Linked DNA regions of Homo sapiens: region 2 is linked to region 1. The links are contacts of gene promoters, found by promoter capture Hi-C in human tissues and cell types (Jung and others, 2019). All regions are on one chromosome and are shown on one strand. The core of a region is centred on a gene start or on the middle of the fragment in contact, and the rest is flanking DNA. Distances in the headings are between cores, read along the strand shown.

Evidence for each region. Contacts are between HindIII fragments. The study calls those that stand out against the background at their distance.
Region 2: a contact is called between a fragment that was not itself captured here and the fragment with the promoter of FMO1 in region 1, in 3 of the 25 tissues and cell types used here (adrenal gland, bladder and mesendoderm cells).

What each region holds. Positions count from the first base shown.
Region 1 is chr1:171,245,530-171,250,746 of GRCh38, forward strand. FMO1 (flavin containing dimethylaniline monoxygenase 1) reads left to right here and starts at 2,965. Exons shown (of 9, transcript NM_001282693.2): 1 at 2,965-3,094. FMO1-AS1 (FMO1 antisense RNA 1) reads right to left here. Exons shown (of 5, transcript XR_922278.4): 2 at 2,052-2,198. The HindIII fragment of the contact is 7,695 bases long and covers 1-5,217 here.
Region 2 is chr1:170,972,712-170,978,298 of GRCh38, forward strand. The region is part of intron 8 of MROH9 (maestro heat like repeat family member 9); the gene reads left to right. Among named protein-coding and RNA genes, the nearest start is that of MROH9, 40 kb to the left of the region's middle. The HindIII fragment of the contact is 4,244 bases long and covers 1-3,544 here.

The DNA of each region.
Region 1 (5,217 bases), core at 1,715-4,214:
TTACCACACTGAAGGAAAAGAAAGTTCTATGGAATCTTACTGGCAATTAAGTGCTCTAGCCCAGAAAGGACACCTTACTCTAGCTCACAGTTCTTTGACCAGAACGAGTCACATTCCTCCCAACCAACCGCTAGAGGGCCAAGAAGAACAATCCTACCATTCATCTTCCCTGAAGGTAGGAGGTCCAGAATATTTCCTAAAGAGCATTATTGTCTACCAATTCAGCTTCTTAGGGTCTAGGTCCACTCGAATAAGGGGACTACATATCCTTCCTTATCCCATGGCCTAGAGTATAACTGACTAACAAAAATCCCTAAAAATAGCAGAAACTGAAGTTGCCACCGAAGGCCGGTCTTCTCATTTTTAATTACTACAAGTCTCTTGCTGATTATGGAAAATGAGATGATATAATAAAATCATCATCTTATTCTCAACCAACAGTTTAAAGTCCTGTGATTCTCCTTATGTTAGCAGCATGCCTGGTAAGGCCCAGGGACAAGTTAAGTCCCACCATTAGTGTACCAAATCCCAGTACTTACATACTTACCTTGATGTGTATATGCTGCACACCAAGGTAAATTACAAATCAAACATATTCTGATTTTTGAAAACATACTTGAACTAATAGTCATTTTAAAGGCTTACTCTCTGGGTATAATTAAGCTTGAAATCATCCAAATATTATTATTTTCATAGCTGCAGCAAAGCAGCTGAATTTCACAGAGCTAACAATGCTGTCTCTGTGCTGAATACTTAATAAGCCAGAAATGAGGCAAAAGGTGAGCCCAATGAGCAAGCAGTATACTCAGTGATACACAGGACCTCCAGGTCAAAGGGTTATACCATGTTGAAAATCAAGGAAAAAGACATATTCTTTCAGAAATTTCTCTCTGCTTCAGTCCACCAACCTCTCATGGAATTTATTCTCTGTACCTGTGGGAGTCATTTCAGTGTTATGAACCAGCAATCAAGACACCTTATCTGGTCCAACAATGACAGCATCATCATCATCATCATTATCATCATTACAATCATACACAGTATTTACTATATATACACAAATCTCTTGACATAGATTATCTCATCTAATCCCCACCACAACTATCTGATGCAGATGTTATTATGCCTGTTTTATTTATTTTTTAGAATTTTTTATTTTATTTATTTCAATAGCTTTTGGGGGAGCAGGTGGTGTTTTGTTACCTGGATAAGTTCTTTAATGGTGATTTGTGGGTTTTGGTGCACCCATCATCTGAGCAGTGTACACTATACCCAATGTGTAGTCTTTTATGCATCACCCCCCACTCCAACACTTACCCCCAAGTCCCCAAAGTCCATTGTATCATTTTTATGCCTTTGTATTCTCATAGCCTAGCTCCAACTTATGAGTGAGAACATAGAATGTTCAGTTTTCCACTCCCAAGTTACTTCACTTAGGATAATGGTCTGCAACTCCATCCAGGTTGCTGTGAATGCCATTATTTCATCCCTTTTTATGGCTGAGTAGTATTCCATGGTATGTATATACCACGAATTATTTATCCACTCATTGATTGATGGGCATTTTGGCTGGTTTCATTTTTTGCAATTGCAAATTGTGCTGCTATAAACAAGTGTGTTCAAGTATCTTTTTTGTATAATGACTCCTTTTCCTCATTTTCAAGACAGCATCAGCTGCGGTAGTATAGGGAGAATGCAAGATTGCCCTAAGGTCTCCTGGATAAGTATTCGTGTTTCTCAGGCTAATAGTCAAAACTATTACAAAGTTCAGCTGGAAGTTTCCTTCTCCCTGTGGTCCTTCCTCAATTTCACTGGCAGCCCTCCTCAAGGACCCCTGTGAGATAAAGTCAGAAATGACTTCCCTGGGCACCAAGAGTACCTACAGGGCTCTTCCCACTGCTTCTACTTTTATATTTCGTTTTGCTCTCTAAATTCATCCCAGCTCTAGGTAAGGTTAAATCCTTCTCCTGTGATCTGGATTTTTAGGTTCCCTAGTGGGTTTGCGTGTTTGGAGGCAGATTTTTTCCCCCACTCACACTTTGGGCACTCACAGTTTTTCAGCTGTCTCATGGAGTTTGCAGCGGCAAGCCACTTCTTTCAAAGGTCCTGTGAATTCTTTTGGTTTTCCTGGTATGTTCATGCAGTACTTCTTGGAGGAAAATTTCACTGTGTGAGTCTCCACATGCTGTTCTGTCTGTCTGCGTGGAAACTGCAAGTTAGTCCTGCCTCCTATCCACCATTTTCCAACAATCTGTCGTTAACCATTTCAAAGTATAGAATTCAGTGGCATTTAGTACATTCATAATGCTGTGTAACCACAACCTCTATCCAGTTTCAAAACACTTTCATCACACCCAAAAGAAAACTCCATACTCATTAGCAATCCTTCCCCATTCCCTTCTTTCCCCAGCCCCTGGCAGCCACTCGATCATGCCTATTTTAAATTGAGGAAACTAAAGCTGAGAAAAGTTATACAATTTTTCCAACATGACTCTGATAATAGCTGGTGAACGCAATACTCGAACCCAGGACTTGTGATTCCCAAGATCAGACTCCTCCCATATACCTGTCTTTTATTTCCCAAGTGCTTGGGCAATCAGCTGCACTTAAAAAGCCTTTACAAATTGAGTTTACTAATGTGAGTAATATATGATTTTTTAAAAATAATAATTGTCCCTAAAGGTGAAATGGATCAAAGCCCTTAAAAGTGAATCTGTGGTGTAGTAACTGTTAACATAATTGTCTTATTTTATTCTCATCCCCTTAAAGAATAAAACTGATGAACAAGTGAGGATGCTGGTGTAACTCCCTAACTTAGTTTATAGTCTGTAAGCAGAAGAGTGAGTCTAAAGTACATATCACCAGACAGTGTTTCTCCTAGCATTTCGCTGTTGCATTAATCAACAAGTTAAAATATAAACAACGGCTAACCTTGGGTTTCAAATTTAACATTCCTTATCTCTTAGACCAGGTTTATCCACTGTGCTGGGGACTCCCAAGCCAGCACTGGCTCATACTGATTCATTTTGATCTCTGCTAATACCAGAGTCCTGCGTGGCAGAGCCATTGGCACCAGAAATTACAAGTACGTAAAGTAAGTAACCAGATATAATCTCTGATTTCTTTGGATGAGGAAAGTGGGGTCTGGAGTTTTCCTGTTTTGTTATTGTGCTCCAGGGAAGAACCACCTTATCAGAAAGCAGCTTTCTCTGTCCAACCCTGGAGGAGCTATAAAGCTACTCCTTGGCCCAAAGTATAGGAGTAGTAAATGTTTGGATACTTATAATGGGACAATATCATTGATTCAACCACTTAATAATCTACCCAGCAGTATACTTACCTGTCTTCCATGTACACAGGTAAGTATACTGTTGGGTAGATTATTAAGTGGTTGAATCAAATGGGAAAAACTTGGATTTCTAATGCAAGAGGAAAAGTCTCTTTTTTTTTTTAGTGCTTCCATCAGCAGCTTCTAACATTGTCTGAGATCATAGTTTTTGAAGGGTGACTACCAAATGTTGGCATTTGGCACAAGTGGGAAGCAAAAGGCAAGCCCCTTTAGAATTTGACTAATCTGTTCTGTCATGTCATCTTTTTTTCTGTTGTTAAAAGTGTTTCGTGCTTCATTCTATGTATTATGTCAAAATTTATTGATTTCCATGTGATTGGCACATCTTTTTTACTAATCCTGCTCCAGTTAAATTCACAAGATCATAAACATCAAGGGTTTGAAAATCATTTTTAGATATTCAGGTCTATGCCATCTGTTCTGCAGATGGAGAAACTGAGTCCTTGGTTATTAGAGTTTCCCCTGCATCCTAGGGAATCTGCTATGGCCTTGTAACTGGCACAGAGGACCTAAAGCCTGGGAGAATTTTTATTTGCTTGTTGTGGTTAGGAACATTTGAGTAAATGAGGAGCTGCTGCTAGAGGACAGAAATCCCAGAGTATGGCCCTCCTTGGACCCAAGTTTCTTACCAGCTGTGCTCCTTTGTTCCCAGGGGCTAAGTAGGCACCTTCACCCACCCCAACTGCCATCCAGCTGAATCTCTCTCTGATTACTCCTGAAATGTCACAACCCACTTGAGGATAGGGTATCATTGTGCAGTCTGTGCCAACCAGTATTCTGAAGTATTTTCATGCACTAAGGTGTAGGAGTGTGTGTGTGTGTGTATGTGTGTGTGTGAGAGAGAGAGACAGAGGGAGTAGGGAAGGAGGAGAAGATGGGGAATGCATAAATAGAGGGCTGGATACAAATCTGACAGTGCCAATGGCTTCCTAGTAAATGCATAGGTGAGTCACACTGGAAACAGTTAAACATTGGCTAATTGATACAATGCTAGCCTCAAATATAGTATAATATGCATTTTCTTGACATCAACAAATAAAATCTCCGGGTCAATAAAATAAACTCGGAAAATAAAACTCTTGCCCAGAAGTTTTCAACTTTCTAGGTTCAAGGAGCCCTTGGTGTGCAATTTCTTCAAGGTGCCCCCAGACCATAGTTTCTCCTATTAAGTAGACAAAAACTTAATAACTATTTATGTTCTAACAACTTTGTAGTTTTTTGAACAAGTAATATACAAACTAAAAGAAAAATAATATTTTTATTTCATTCTTAATCCCAATTACTTAATAATAAGGTTTATGTGCCTGCTGAGCACTGCACAACTTCTCAAACCTTGGAATCAGATCAGACATGAACCCTTCATTTCTATTCTACCTCAGTTTTCATGCAATACTTGCTTTTTGTCATAGCAATTGTCAAACACCCAGCTTTGCAAAGATATGATGTCAGCAAATGGAACACAGTCTTTTACAATATTAAAACTGTTAACTACTTTCAGCTAATACTTAGCATAGTGTTCAACTGACATCAAGAATCACTGTGCTTCTTCAAAATTTTAAAATAGCTCAGAGTGCCGCTGCAGTTTGGTAATGACAGGCGTCACCTCATGTTTTGACCTCTCATGATCTACTGTCCTACTAAACCAAAGCGGACACTCAATCTGACTTCAGTAAATTATATATTTGCATTTTACAACTTTCAAGAAGAGGAAGCAGTATAAAATTCACAAAAAAGCATAGTAGTTTCTAACCCTGTAGTTAAAAATCAGTCACTTTTATACAACCAATAGCGATTTCCCAACTCATTTAGTAATTTTATGTTGCTTAAGTTATTTTACTTGTTTTTTTCACTCAATTTTCACCCATTGG
Region 2 (5,587 bases), core at 173-2,672, 270 kb before region 1:
TGAGGTAGGAGAATGGCGTGAACCCAGGAGGCAGAGCTTACAGTGAGCCGAGATCATGCCACTGCACTCCAGCGTGGGTGACAGAGCAAGACTCCGCCTCAAAAAAAAAAAAAAAAATACACACACACACACACACACACACACACACAGAGTTTTCAATTCATTGCACATTAAATAATAAAGGACAATGACTCTTGAAAGATGAGGAGGTGAGAACGAATGAGGTGGGGTTTGTAATTGCCTGAGCTTACCACCTAGAGTACATTTCTAAGAGCCAACACAAAAAGAGATAAGCCAGTGGTCTCATCAAGTTAAAAAGACAGAAATGGGAGTCCAGAGAGGTCAATAGCTAGGGTTGAAAGGCCAGGGTACCAGAACGGAGTACATGAGTGCATGCACACGCATACACACACACACACACGCACGCACAAACCCACAAACTCGAGATCTGCAGAGATCTAAAGAGAGCCCCCTTTAAGTATTTAGCTGAGTACTAATGAGAACATGCATGCAAGTAAACTGCCTGAGTTTGAAGGGTAGGAAACAACAAAAATGATTAGAGAAAAAGATTCAGTGCTCAACAAAGGCTAGTGATAATGCCTGTGCCTGTAAGCCAGAATTTAAAACCTTATAATTCACAAGTACCGAGGTACAGTACTCAGACGGGTTTTGTCTCATTAGGAGAAAAAAAATCATCCTAAACTGTTTTAGTGCTACTTAAAAAGGCCTTAAAACAAGATCTAAAAGTATCACTATCTCCAAATATTTTAATTACCTACCAAAACAAAGCTGAAGAATACCCCTAGAAATAAAAAAAAAAGTTCCTGCACTCAACAAGTTAAAATTAACAATGTCTGAAATCCAATTTAAAAAAAATTATTAGGTTGGGCACGGTGGCTCATGCCTGTAATCCCAGCACTTTTGGAGGCCGAGGCGGGCAGATCACCTGAGGTCAAGAGTTCGTGATTAGCCTGGCTAAAATGGTGAATCCCCGTCTCTACTAAAAATACAAAATTAGCTGAGCATGGTGGTGCGTGCCTGTAATCGCAGCTACTCAGGAGGCTGAGACAGGAGAATTGCTTGAACCTGGGAGGCAGAGGTTGCAGTGAGCTGGTATCGTGCCACTGTACTCCAGCCTGGGCGATAGAGAAATGGCACAGATGATAGAATGAGTAGAGTGTGACATTAAAAGAATTATTATAACTACATTCCACTTATTAAAGGAATTAGAAGATAAAAACATCTTAAGTAGAGACAGAAAAACTCCTAAAAGACTTATATTGAACCTCTGGAGGTAAAAATTACAATATCTGAGAAGAAAAATTCTCTGGCATGGATTAACAAAAACTTTGCAGAAGAAAAGATTAATGAGCTTGCAGACATAGTAATAGTAATTATCAAAATTTAAACAGAGAAATAAATGACAGACAAATAGAGCATCAGTGAGCTATCAGGCATGTCTAATATGAGTCTCTGAAGAGCCTAATACATATTTTATTTGAGTCTCTGAAAGTGAGAAAGTGAGGACAGAAAAACAAATTAAAGAATAATGACTGAAAAATTTTCAAATGTAATAAAAGCTATAAACTCACACACTGAAAAGCTCAGCAGAGAACAAGAAATGTGAAGAAAAGAACATCAAGGCACATCATAATTAAATTGCTTACAACAAGTGATAAAGAAAAAAATCTTAAAAGGAGCCAAAGAGGAAAAAGGACATTACATATAGAGAAACAAAGATAAGGGTGACAGCAGATTTCTCACCAGAAATGACACAAGTTATAGGCAATGAAGGAACATCATAAAATACAGAAAAGAAAAAAAAAGTCAATCTAGAATCCTTAAACCAGTAGAAATATCTTTCAAAATAAAAAGTAAAATAAAGACATTTTAGATATACAAGAGTTGGTAGAATTAATTACCATAAGATCTTTAACTGCAAGAAATGTTAAAGAAAATTCTTTTAGAAAAGGAAATTATACCAGACGAAAATCTAGATCTACAAAAAGGAATGAAGAGCACTGGAAAACTTCAGCAATATAGATAAATATTCATTTATCTTTCTTATTTAAATCTCTTTAAATGATAATCAACTCTTTAAAGATAATAACAAAAGTAAAATATATAAAAACAACACAAAAACTTAAAGGGAAAAATGTATAAATGTGTTTTAAAATTCTTCTCCTATGCACAAAGTTATAAAATAACACTTGAAAGTAAACTAATAAGTTAAGGATGTATCATCTAAACCCTAAAGCCACCATTAAGATAATATAGCAAAAAGTTATATATATTAAGCCAAAATGGAGCTAAAATGGAATCATAGAAAATAATTTAAAATGAGGCAAAAAAGAATAGAAAAAAAGCAGATAACACAAAATAGGAAACAAATAATCAAGACAAATTTTTAACCCAATCATAATAAATGTAAATATTCTAAATACCCCAAGTAAAAAGGCAGATTGTCAGACTGAATAAAAAGCAAGCCTCAACTATATGCTGCCTACAAGAAACTCACTTTAAATATAAAACATACATGAATTAAATGTTAAAAGTTAGACAATGATATAACATGTTAACAATAATAAAAAGAAAATTGGAGTGGCTATATTCTATTATTATAAAAAGATATATTTTAGAGATAAGAATGCCTCCAGGGAAAAGAAAGTCATTTCATAATGATAAAGGGATCGATTAATTAAGGAGACATAACAATTCTTTTTTGAATAGATTTAGGGGGTACAAATGCTGATTTGTTGCATGGATATATTCAGTAGTAAGCATCACCTAAATAGTGTACATGTTACCCATTAGGTCCTTTCTCATCCCTCACTCCCCTTTCACCTTCCCACTTTTATGAGTCTCTAATGTCTATTAATCTGCTCTGTATGCCCATGTGTACACATTATGTAGTGAGAACCTGTGGTATTTGACTTTCTGTTTTGAGTTATTTCACTTAAGAAAATGACCTTTTTTGCCTCAATGATCTAATACTGCCAGTGGGATGTTGAAGACTCCCACTATTATTGTGTGGGATGCTGAAATCTCTCACTATTATTGTGTGGGAGTCTAAGTTTCTTTGAAGAACTCTAAGAACTTGCTGTATGAATCTGGGTGCTCCTGTGTTGGGTGCATATTTATTTAGGATGGTTAAGTCTTCCCATTGAATTGAATCCTTCATCATTTATGTAAATGCCCTTTTTTGTCTTTTTTGATCTTTGTCGGCTTAAAGTCTATTTTGCCTGAGATTAGGTTTGCAACCCCAGCCTTTTTCTGTTTTCCATTTGCTTGGTAGGTTTTTCTCCATTTCTTTATTTTGAGCCTGTAAGTGTCATTACATGTGAGATGGGTCTCTTGAAGACAGCATACCATTGGGTCTTTGTTTTTTATTAAGCTTGCCACTCTGTGCCTTTTAATTGGAGCATTTAGCCCATTTACCTTCAAGGTTTGTGTTATTTATGGATTTGATCCTGTCATGATGTTAGCTGATTAATTACGCAGACTTGTTCGTGTGATTGCTTTACAGTATTACTGGTCTGTGTACTTCAGTGTATTTTTGCTGTGACTGGTACTGGTCTTTCCTTTCCATATTTAGTGCCCTTTTCAGGAGCTCTTATCAGGCAGATCAGTGGTAATGAATTTCTTCAGCATTTGCTTGTCTAAAAAGGGTCTTATTTCTCCTTCACTTAGGAAGCTTAGTTGAGCCAGATATGAAATTCTTGGTTGGAATTTATTTTTTTTTAAGAATGTTGAAGCCAGGCATGGTGGCTCATACCTGTAATCCCAGGACTTTGGGAAGCTGAGGTGGGTAGATCAATTGAGGCCAGGAGTTTGAAACCAGCCTGGCCAACATGGTGAAACCTCGTCTCTAATAAAAATACAAAAATTAGCTGGGCATGGTGGTGTGTGCCTGTAATCCCAGCTACTCAGGAGGCTGAGGCATATAAAAAAATGATAACATATTTTCTTTTTTTATTTTGACCTTGGAGAATCTGATGATTATGTGTCTTGGGGATGTAGAATTGTGCAGAGGTTGTCTGTATTTCCTGAATTTGACTGTTGACCTGTCTAGCAAGGTTGGGGAAGTTTTCATGGATGATATCCTGAAATGTTTCCAAGTTGTTGGCTTTCTCTCCATCTATTGCAGGGATGCCAATAACACATAGAATTGGCCTCTTTATATAATCTTGTATTTCTTGGAGGTTTTGTTCTTTCCTTTACATTCTGGTTTCTTTTTTTTCTTTTTTTTCTGACTGCCTTAATTCAGAGAGCCAGTCTTCAAGTTTCAAGATTTTTTTCCTCAGCTTCATCTATTCTGCTGTTAATACTTGCATTTGCATTTTGAAATTCTTGTAGTGTGTTTTTCAGCTCTATCAGGCCAGTTAGGTTTTTTTATACTGGCTATTTCATCAGTCAGCTCCTGTATCATTTTATTGTGAGTCTTAGTTTCCTTGGACTGGGTTTTGCTATTCTCCTGAATCTCAATGATCTTCATTCCTAGCCATATTCTGAATTATATTTCTGTCATTTCAGTCAATCCAACCTGGTTAAGAACCCTTGTTGGAGAACTATTTCAGCCATCTGGAGGACACAAGACACTCTAGCTATTTGAGTTACTCATTCTTTCTCAGTTCGGCATGAGGGTATCCCTTTAACTGCAGTGGAGATTGAGTATAGTCAGTAGACTTCCTTTCTGGATGTCTTCACAGGACTGAGCCTTGTACAGGGTCTGTATTTGTATCTGACTTCTCATCTTTGGTTTCATGGTAGGGTATGTTAGTGAGATATTTTGTTGTTGAAGCTTTAGGGTGTGATCTGGTCTGGTCAATGGCACTTAGGCACAGTGATCAGTTGGTAGACTCTTGCTCAGTTGTGGCTCCCCTATATTTCCTTACAGTAGCAGCTGTGCTTCTTCTCAGTGCCCCGAAAGCATGGGCTCCTTTCCCACTTAAGTGTTGGCTATAGATCATGGCTTGGCACTTCCAGGATGCCTACCACAACTCTGGGTTGATTTCAAGGTTTATGTTTCCTCCCCAACTCGGAGGCAGCAGAGAAAGGGACCTCAGCAGTGAGTGTGGCCAAGGATCTTTTACTTGTCTTCTGGAGGCTCCACACCAGAGAGATGCAGGTCAGCAATTGCTCAGTGCAATCAACCCAGGATTGAAGGTCTGTGCTGTGGGCCCAAGCTAGGAGTTCCCTGCCTGGTGATGAGCAGGGAACATGAGTAGAACCCACAGGAGACAGACTGGCCCCCTTTCTCTGGGTTGACTGTAACTTGCTGGAGTTGCAGATTAGGTATTTACAGTCTTTGCTCCTTCTTTAGTCTGAGGGTAGCAGGGATAGTACCATTGCAGAGGCAGTGGCAGAGGAGTTTTCATTTGCCCCCTTGAGCTCTACTTCCAAGAAACATGGAGCTGCTGTTACTGAGATTGTTCAGCCAGTAGGGTGGGACAGCTAAATTGCTGGTATGAGCTTGGGGTTATGCTTGTTGGAGAGCAGGGGTTCAAAGGCTCTCCAGGTGGAAAGATTGGTCTCCTCTCCCTACAGTGACTGTGGTGTGCTATAAGCTCAGGTGTAGCCCTCAGGC